Linked DNA regions of Homo sapiens: all the other regions are linked to region 3. Evidence: promoter capture Hi-C in 16 types of primary human blood cells and fetal thymus (Javierre and others, 2016). All regions are on one chromosome and are shown on one strand. The core of a region is centred on a gene start or on the middle of the fragment in contact, and the rest is flanking DNA. Distances in the headings are between cores, read along the strand shown.

Evidence for each region. Contacts are between HindIII fragments. The CHiCAGO score rates a contact against its expected background, and 5 or more counts as called.
Region 1: a contact is called between a fragment that was not itself captured here and the fragment with the promoter of FRMD7 in region 3, in 2 of 17 cell types (neutrophils and non-activated CD4 T cells). The highest score is 6.6, in neutrophils.
Region 2: a fragment that was not itself captured here is called in contact with the fragment with the promoter of FRMD7 in region 3 in 3 of 17 cell types (naive B cells, activated CD4 T cells and monocytes); the score reaches 5.8 in naive B cells.

The regions. Positions count from the first base shown.
Region 1 is chrX:131,872,344-131,875,184 of GRCh38, forward strand. No RefSeq gene overlaps it. Among named protein-coding and RNA genes, the nearest start is that of FIRRE, 43 kb to the left of the region's middle. The HindIII fragment of the contact is 1,766 bases long and covers 481-2,246 here.
Region 2 is chrX:131,896,855-131,899,585 of GRCh38, forward strand. No RefSeq gene overlaps it. Among named protein-coding and RNA genes, the nearest start is that of FIRRE, 68 kb to the left of the region's middle. The HindIII fragment of the contact is 1,873 bases long and covers 398-2,270 here.
Region 3 is chrX:132,126,701-132,129,400 of GRCh38, forward strand. It overlaps FRMD7 (FERM domain containing 7), which reads right to left and starts at 1,320. Exons shown (of 12, transcript NM_194277.3): 1 at 1,088-1,320. The coding sequence starts at 1,144. The HindIII fragment of the contact is 2,038 bases long and covers 1-1,513 here.

The sequences.
Region 1 (2,841 bases), core at 114-2,613, 250 kb before region 3:
TCTATCATTTGGGTAATGGAGCAAATCGTAAGATCAGTGAATTCTGGTGGTGTATGTCCATTGCCACACTACTCTCACTATAAAATGAGTTCTTTGATCAGAGGTAACATTGTGTGAAATGCCATGGCAACAAATATGGCATTTTTAAGTTCACAACTGGTGGTGAAAGCCAAAGATTTGTGGTCAATTGAAGGTCAATGAAGGTCAATGAAGATACATATCCAGAATATGTATCTATTTTTGTGAGGACATATCACTCCCTCTATATGATAGAGTCAACCTTCTCCAGATGACTGGCTAGTCTCCAAAGGGAATGGTGCCAAACTAGGGAGCAATATTTGTCCCTGCTCATATAATATTAGGAGCTCAACAGTGTTCGTAGCAAGATGAACCTTGATAAGAGGAAGTCTTTGGTTTTGACCAAAAATATGGCCTTCTTCACTACTGTCATTGCTGCTTTATACAATGGGTCATTGGGCAAGCTTCAGGATGGCACAGGTAAAGAAGCTGACTGATAGTCACAGATCATGTCATCTTGTCTACCTGATTATTGATATTGCAGTGCATGCCCTCTGGTTGGCAATTAGATGGGGCACTAGGATCATCACATCCTGTCCCCATTCAGAGAAGTTCATTCATTTACCTTTCCTAGAAACCTCTTTTTTCCCAAAATTTTTAATGTTATTTTTTTCAAATCCTTTTCCAGCCATCTAATTTGTTAGCCATTTCTCATGAAGCAGTATAGATTCATGTCTCTGGCCATTTGTCCTTCCAAACAATGTGGAGAAGCAAATATACTACCCACACTTCTACTCACTGGGAGGATTTCTATTTACTACTGTTTTATATTTTTAAAAAATAATTTCAATATTTATTATAGATTAAAAGGTATATGTGCAGGTTTGTCACATGGGTATATTGCGTGTTGCTGAGGTTTGGTGTACAAATGATCCCATCACCCAGACAGTGACCATAGTGTCAATAGGTGGTTTTTCAGACCATGGTCTCCTCCCCTCGCCCCATCTAGTGGTCCCCAGGGTGTATTGTTATCATCTTTGTGTATACGTGTATTCAATGTTTAGCTTCCACTTATAAGTGAGAACATGTGGTATATGGTTTTCTGTTCTTGTGTTAATTCACTTAGGATAATGTCCTTCAGCTATATCCATGTTGTTGCAAAGGACGTGATTCTGTTTTTTTATGGCTATGTAGTATTTCTTTCTTTCTTTCTTTTTTTTTTTTTTTTGAGATGGAGCCTCACTCTGTTGCCCAGGCTGGAGTGCAGTGGCGCAATCTTGGGTCACTGCAACCTCTGCCTCCTGGGTTCAAGCGATTCTCCTGTCTCAGTCTCCTGAGTAGCTGGGATTACAGGTGCATGCCACCATGCCCAGCTAATTTTTGTATTTGTAGTAGAGACGGGTTTTCACCATGTTGGTCAGGCTGGTCTTGAACTCCTGACCTTGTGATCCGCCTGCCTCGGCCTCCCAAAGTGCTGGGATTACAGGCGTGAGCCACCGCCCCTGGCCACTGCTATGTAGTATTTCATACTATATATGTACCACATTTTCTTTATCCAATCCACCATTGATGGGCATATAGGTTGATTCCATGTCTTTGCTATTGTGAATAACTCTTGCTTTTTAGGCCTGACACTGCATGGGGCTATAGTGCATTGCTGGTGCCTGTATACACAAATTCATGGGCCTGGTTCTGGAGTGGCTCTGCTAAGTGCCTAACGCTTAGGCCCATGAATTTCTTGTTATTGTACCTGCTTATAGGGTACTCCTCATGATGCCACAGGTTTTGGTAGAGAAAGAGGCAGCCAAGCAGCACGGGTAAATACTAGAGGGGTCTAGCCACCTGCTTGTATGGTTTCCTTACACCTTCTGGAACTACTCTCACCTGTTTTATGTACTGCATTTATATTTTATAGTGAAATGGTCCTGTGCACATTCAATTTCTTAGTTCAGTGGACTCTATAATACCCAACACAGAATGGTGAGCTGGAGTCATGTAGTCATTTGTTGCCCCATAGTCAGGTATTTGTTTCTACCAGGCCCAGTAACAAATCGGAAGCTGCTTTTCAAATGGAGATTACTTTGCAGACAGAAGAAGGTATAGCCCAACTCCAAACTACAGAAGCCTCTATTGTGATTCAACTACTAGGACTCCATAAACTTCTGTGTTTGCCACAGCTACCTCTAACATCATTGGGTCTATTGAGTCATAGGCCCAAGTGGCAGGGAAGCTTGCACTGCAGCTTGGATTTGCTGCAAAGCTTTCTTCCCCCTACTCTAAATCCTACTTAAAATTGGTATCCTAGGCCAGGCGTGATGGCTCACGCCTGTAATCCTAGCACTTTGGGAGGCTGAGGTGGGTGGATCACGAGGTCAGGAGATTAAGACCATCCTGGCTAACATGGTGAAACCCGGTCTCTACTAAAAATACAAAAAATTAGCCGGGCGTGGCAGCGGGTGCCTGTATTCCCAGCTACTCCAGAGGCTGAGGCAGGAGAATGGCATGAACCCGGGAGGTGGAGCTTGCAGTAAGCCGAGATAGCGCCACTGCACTGCACTCCAGCCTGGGCAACAGAGCGAGACTCCATCTCAAAAAAAAAAAAAAAAAGAAAGAAAAAAAGAAAAGGTATCCTACTAGGTTATCTGGTAAATGGATTAGAGTATCACAATTAAGTGTGATATATTTTGCCTCTTCCAAAATCCAAAGAGGACTATTTTATCTTGTGACTCTTTCTTTATGATGGATATATCATGAGTATGTAATGTGACAGCAAATTTTTGCCTCTCACTTTATAGGGTATAACCCTACATGCCCAGATCACCA
Region 2 (2,731 bases), core at 84-2,583, 230 kb before region 3:
GCCTATATGGAGGTGGAGGACCTAAACCTGTTAAGTATCTGTCAATTGAAGAACAATGACAGAACAGTCGAGCAACGAGTGAGATTTCAGTAAATCCACTAGATGTTGGCTTTACTTCATGCCACTTTTACTAGTTTGGTTTTCATCGAATTGCCTGGTTGTTTTAGCATCATATAGTCTAATTTAGCATATTAGGTTGTATCTAAAATGACAGATGGAACAGCCCGTTAAAAAGCAAAATAAATTTATGGCCATTCACATGGCATCATAACTGTTTGATTTTAAATTTATCAAAAAAGTACAAAGTGTCTAGCCAATTTGCTTAAAAACTGGCAAAAATTATTTATGAGGAGATACAGCATAAATGCAAAAATAAGCCACTACTTCTTTCTGTCAAAGCTTCAGTCAATCACCCAGTTACGTTATTTATGAGATTAATAGACTATTTAATTATAAGTTTGACTATTGACCAGAAATGGACCAGAATCATTGACGTAATATAACCTAATATAAGCACCTTTCTTCAGGATCCAGTAGGCTACACAACTTTATCAGCCTTCCTTTGCCTTTATAGGTCCTAAATAAAAAGAGAAGAAGGCTCATATTTAAGCAGTTGTACAAATGTACGGTAGAGTCTAATACATTTGTACAAACTCTACAAAGTCATGGCTAGAGTTGAACAAGGATTTCTTTAGCATTTATCTTGATTAATTATAGAATATAAGCATTTTGGGAACCACTTTAAGCTCTAAAAACACAAGTGTGTTCAAAAATAAGTATACAAAGAGAGTAGTACTAACTAGAACCACCATAGCAGCTCCTTGGGAGAGGTTCTTTTTTAGGGTAACAACAGCAATTTTTTTGTGACCTACGCTTTGTTGGTACTTGTCACACAAGATGAATGGAATTAATACACAAGATAGGGTTTATGCAACTATCATCTAAGAATTCCTCCTCAGATCTCATTTTACAGGCAAACACCTTCTTTGAACTAATGTGCAACAGACCCTCAAATTCCATGTTAAGGTGATTCCATCTCATGATAAAAATTCTCTTTCATATGGAAAATACTTTATCATTTTAGAAGTATTATTGCATAAATTATTATTCCTTATACTCATAATTTCTTCTTTTAAAGCGTTTTATGTATCATAATAAATGTTTTTTCAACATCATTTCTGTAAGTATTGGATTTCCGTCACATCAATTTCTCATAAAAAGGATAAACTGGAAAAAGAATAAATTATTATTCTTTCCCATCTCCTGTTTCATTGCTTTGTCTTCCATGGTGTACTTTAACAACCCATCTGGCCATTTTTACTCCCAATCCTTACACACATTTTTGAGCTTAGCATATGTGTTCTCCCTGAAAATCATGGCCAAGATTGTGATTGTTTTTCTCCTTCTTCCCCATGAGACCCCATATACATTATGTAACTTATCTAATCCTTCTCATTGCCGTCTTGGCCAACTAGTTCCCAAAGTCTTCTAACACAGCACGTTTATAGGGTACCTGTAACTAGGTCTCTTCCTCTTCTGTCCTATCCTTCTTTCTCCTACACTAATCCAGTGTTTTCTTGAGTCGATGCTGTCTCTCTTGATCAAAACTTTTCAATCCTTATCTTGATTCCCCTTTGTAGATTTTCATGCCTTTCTCAGCTCTACTTTGCAAAATCTCCTCTTTTTGGGTTTTGGGTATACAGGGGGAAGCATGAAGAATAATTCCCAGGTGATAAAGATAAGGAGAGTGATGCCATAATGAGGCATGGAATACTTACTCAAATGTGTTCTGATTTAGCCAACATGTTTGCCTGGAGTTCTGGAGAGAGGCCTAAGCTGCTCATATAAATTTGGAAGGAAAGAGAAGAGGATGGAACCACAGAATCTTGGTAAACATCAACATTTATGGGACAGGCGGAAGACCTACTTCAGAAAGCAGTATGAATAAAGGTGGTTAGAGACATAGGAGGAAAGATTTTGCCTTTTCAGTAAGGCCTTTCCTGATGACTTATTTAAAATTTGTAACTCTCTCCCTGGCATTCTTGTCATTGGTGATTTGGAAAGATGGTTTCAAAGATGTATGGGGTAAAATAGATTTCTGTGAGGTGTGAATCAAATACTGGCGAAGAAGAACAAATAGCTAATGTAGTTCTCTTGGATATAAAACAGAAGAAGTTACAGGATCTGTTAGAGGGTGATATGGGGGACTTTTAAAGATAGGAGAGAATGGAGAAATTTATGGGGTAGGGACCAAAAATCAATAGATTCAAAGCTTATTCAGAATATAGTTGATTGATGGAGAAAGTCACTGAACAGAGGAGTTGCAACCCAGAATATCTATCTATCTATCTATTTATCTATCTATCTATCTATCTATCTATCTATCTATCTATCTATCATCTATCTATCGATTGAGAGAGATGGCTTTTCATTGAGTAGCTGAAAGGTGCCTTCTTCAATTGAAAAAAGTGGGTAGAAAGGATATAGTATGGCACAAAAGTTTTTTGGTAATGGCAATAGAAAGACTAGAAACCTCTGCTCTAAGGTCTAGATTTTTTGTGAAAATGAAGGAGTATGCAATGTAGGGGGTTTGAAAAGACTGACAAAAGTTTGAAATACGTTTTGAGAAAATGGAGGAAAGGTGTTGACAAGGCTAGACCTGCAGTGATCTCCAAACTTGAGCTTACATCATAATTGTATGAGGCGCTCATTAAAACACAGAATAGAAAGG
Region 3 (2,700 bases), core at 70-2,569:
TAAATATAGTTCCAAGAAAGAATAGGAAATGCCTCATACCTCTAATGGAAGCTATTTGCTACAAAAACAAATCATTCAGGTCCGTGGAACTAGAAATGCCTTTTGCGCATAAAACTGAAAGGAAGAGACAGCAAAACAGCAGATGAAGACATGAAGTCATCACTCACAAAGCACATGATTCAAATAAAAATAAAATACTCATTGGAAAAATGGGCTACCCACACACACAACATCATGGCTGAGCCACAGCAGTTGTCAGTTTATGTATAAAAGAAAAAAACCAACATTTTGTATGAATTTCAGAGAAAATAAACTATTTGTCTCTTGTTAGTGGCTAATGTAAATATCAGAGCAAATAGCATTTTTGGTTCCAATAAAAATGTAGAACTTTTCAAAATGCTCATACATAAATCCTGACATCAAAATGTACATATCTTAAGATGTTGGAACATGAGCACCAAATGATGTGCTTAATACATTTGTTCTTTCTTGAAGAGATGAGGTATAATTGTATGCAATCATCTTGTAGCTAGGAATTTATTAAGAACTCTGAACTATAAGTACTAAATCAAACTAAATAGTCTCTTATCCTATTTTTCTCTCTCATACTTGTCATTCCTTCCTGAAGTTCTCATTACAACTACATAATTCTACCCCTTATAACCCATAGGTTTTCTTCAGAAAAGGAGGATAGCTTCCCCCACTCCTTTCCCTCAGAACAACAGTTTTCTCCCCACAAATGCTCATGGGGTGAGACCCACAGACATAATTTCAATGAACAACAATACCTTATTGGGTAAAAGAACTAGTTTATTGCTGCTTTACTTTTTGCAAATAGTTATCCTGTCTTTAAAATTTGCTATTGTTGTCCCTTGAGAAAAGACAACTTGTTCTAAGAGAAAGGTTAATGGAAAAATATGAACTACATTGTGATGTTAAATACAGATTATTTTTCCAAAGCTAAAAATCACAGTCCTCCTTCATTCAGTCCTAAAGAAGACATAACATTGCTCTCTAATGGGCTGTTCACAAATGACAATTATTGAATGAATAATAAAGGAATAATAGCAATGTGATTTCCACTTACATCAACCACAAAAATCTTCTGGGAATCATCCAAAAACTGCACTTTTAAATGTAGCATTCTCAGCGAGGCCGTTGGGCTGCAAGCAGGCTCAGAGTGCTGTGGGTGCTTTCTCCAGGAATTTCACTCCCAGCTGGATGTGGTGCACTCGGGCCCCCCCACCCCCAGCCAGGCATTCCCACTGTCAGCGGGGCACACTTCCGTTTGCTTGAAGTAATGCACACCCAAGGGCATTTGTGCTGCCAAGTGCAGGGGATCAATAGCATCTGGGCAGTCTCCTGTTTGGTCAATATCAAATCTAACTGGACTTCCTCTAGCCTTCTTAAACTCAGCTCCTTTCTTCAAAGAAAAATATAAAGAAAGCAAGCATTTGTGGTCCCTGGGGATTTTCTTTATTTCACAAGGGCACAATTTGAAAACCCTAGATCAAGCTTTAATAAACTGAGAATAGCCATTCTCAAAAGTAAAAAGATTCAAGTTAATCTCAAATTGTACTAGAAATTTCATGGCCAAGCTAGGAAGCATCTATCTATCTATCTATCTATCTATCTATCTATCTATCTATCTATCTATGCTTATATATATCTATATATAATTATATAGATATAATATATCCATATATAATTATATAGATATAATATATCCATATATAATTATATAGATATAATATATCCATATAATTGCTATTATATAGAAACATATATAATATAAAATTATGCATAATTTTAATTATCTGAATTCACATGATTTAGAAATAAAAACTATATAAAAAGGTATATAGAAAACTTCACTTCCACTCCTGTTCCCTCTTTTCTGTGTTCCCAATACACCCCTATTGGTAACCAATTTTTTTTCTTTCTATTCCCATAGAATTTATGTGCTTACATCTATAAAGAAATGAAACAAGGAATACAACTAAGGTCGAACCCCATCTCAGCTGTAAATAACATTCATGTATTCTTGGATAAATGAACTAATTAGGATAAAGAACGTTCTAATAAAACAGTCATCAAAGAATTACATTAATATCATTTTCATTATATAACAATAATTACGATGACATTTATTCTGGACTGAGATAACACTTAAGGCAAGAACTAAGAAAACTTACCTCCATTTGTATTTTTTGTTGACAAGAAGATAATGGGTGAATGATTAAAAGATGCCAAGCACAGTAGATTACATTACGATAGGATTCTTGGCTGAAAGTGGTATGAAAATATAGAAGAAGAAAAGCCAATTTAAAATGTTCAACTACTAAAGAACTAGCTCGTTTATTTTTATAAATGAATAAAGGGTGTCAAATTGTTGTGATATTTAAATTGTACCGGATATGTTTAAAATAGTGATGTAACAGTTTTTATTTTAAAATACCAATATTTATATGACACCAGCAAACACATACTTTGTCAAGTATTTAACTTCCCATGAAAAATTTTAGATGTCAACTTAGATGGGTGAGGGGACACATGATTTTTCAAAATACTTTTGGGGGTCACATGAGCAGAATACTTTGTGGACCACTGCTTTAAAACACTATTTCTCTAAGTACGGTTGAGGGACCAACTTACAGAATCACCTGGGAAGGGTGGCTGACTTTTTAAAAATGCCGATAC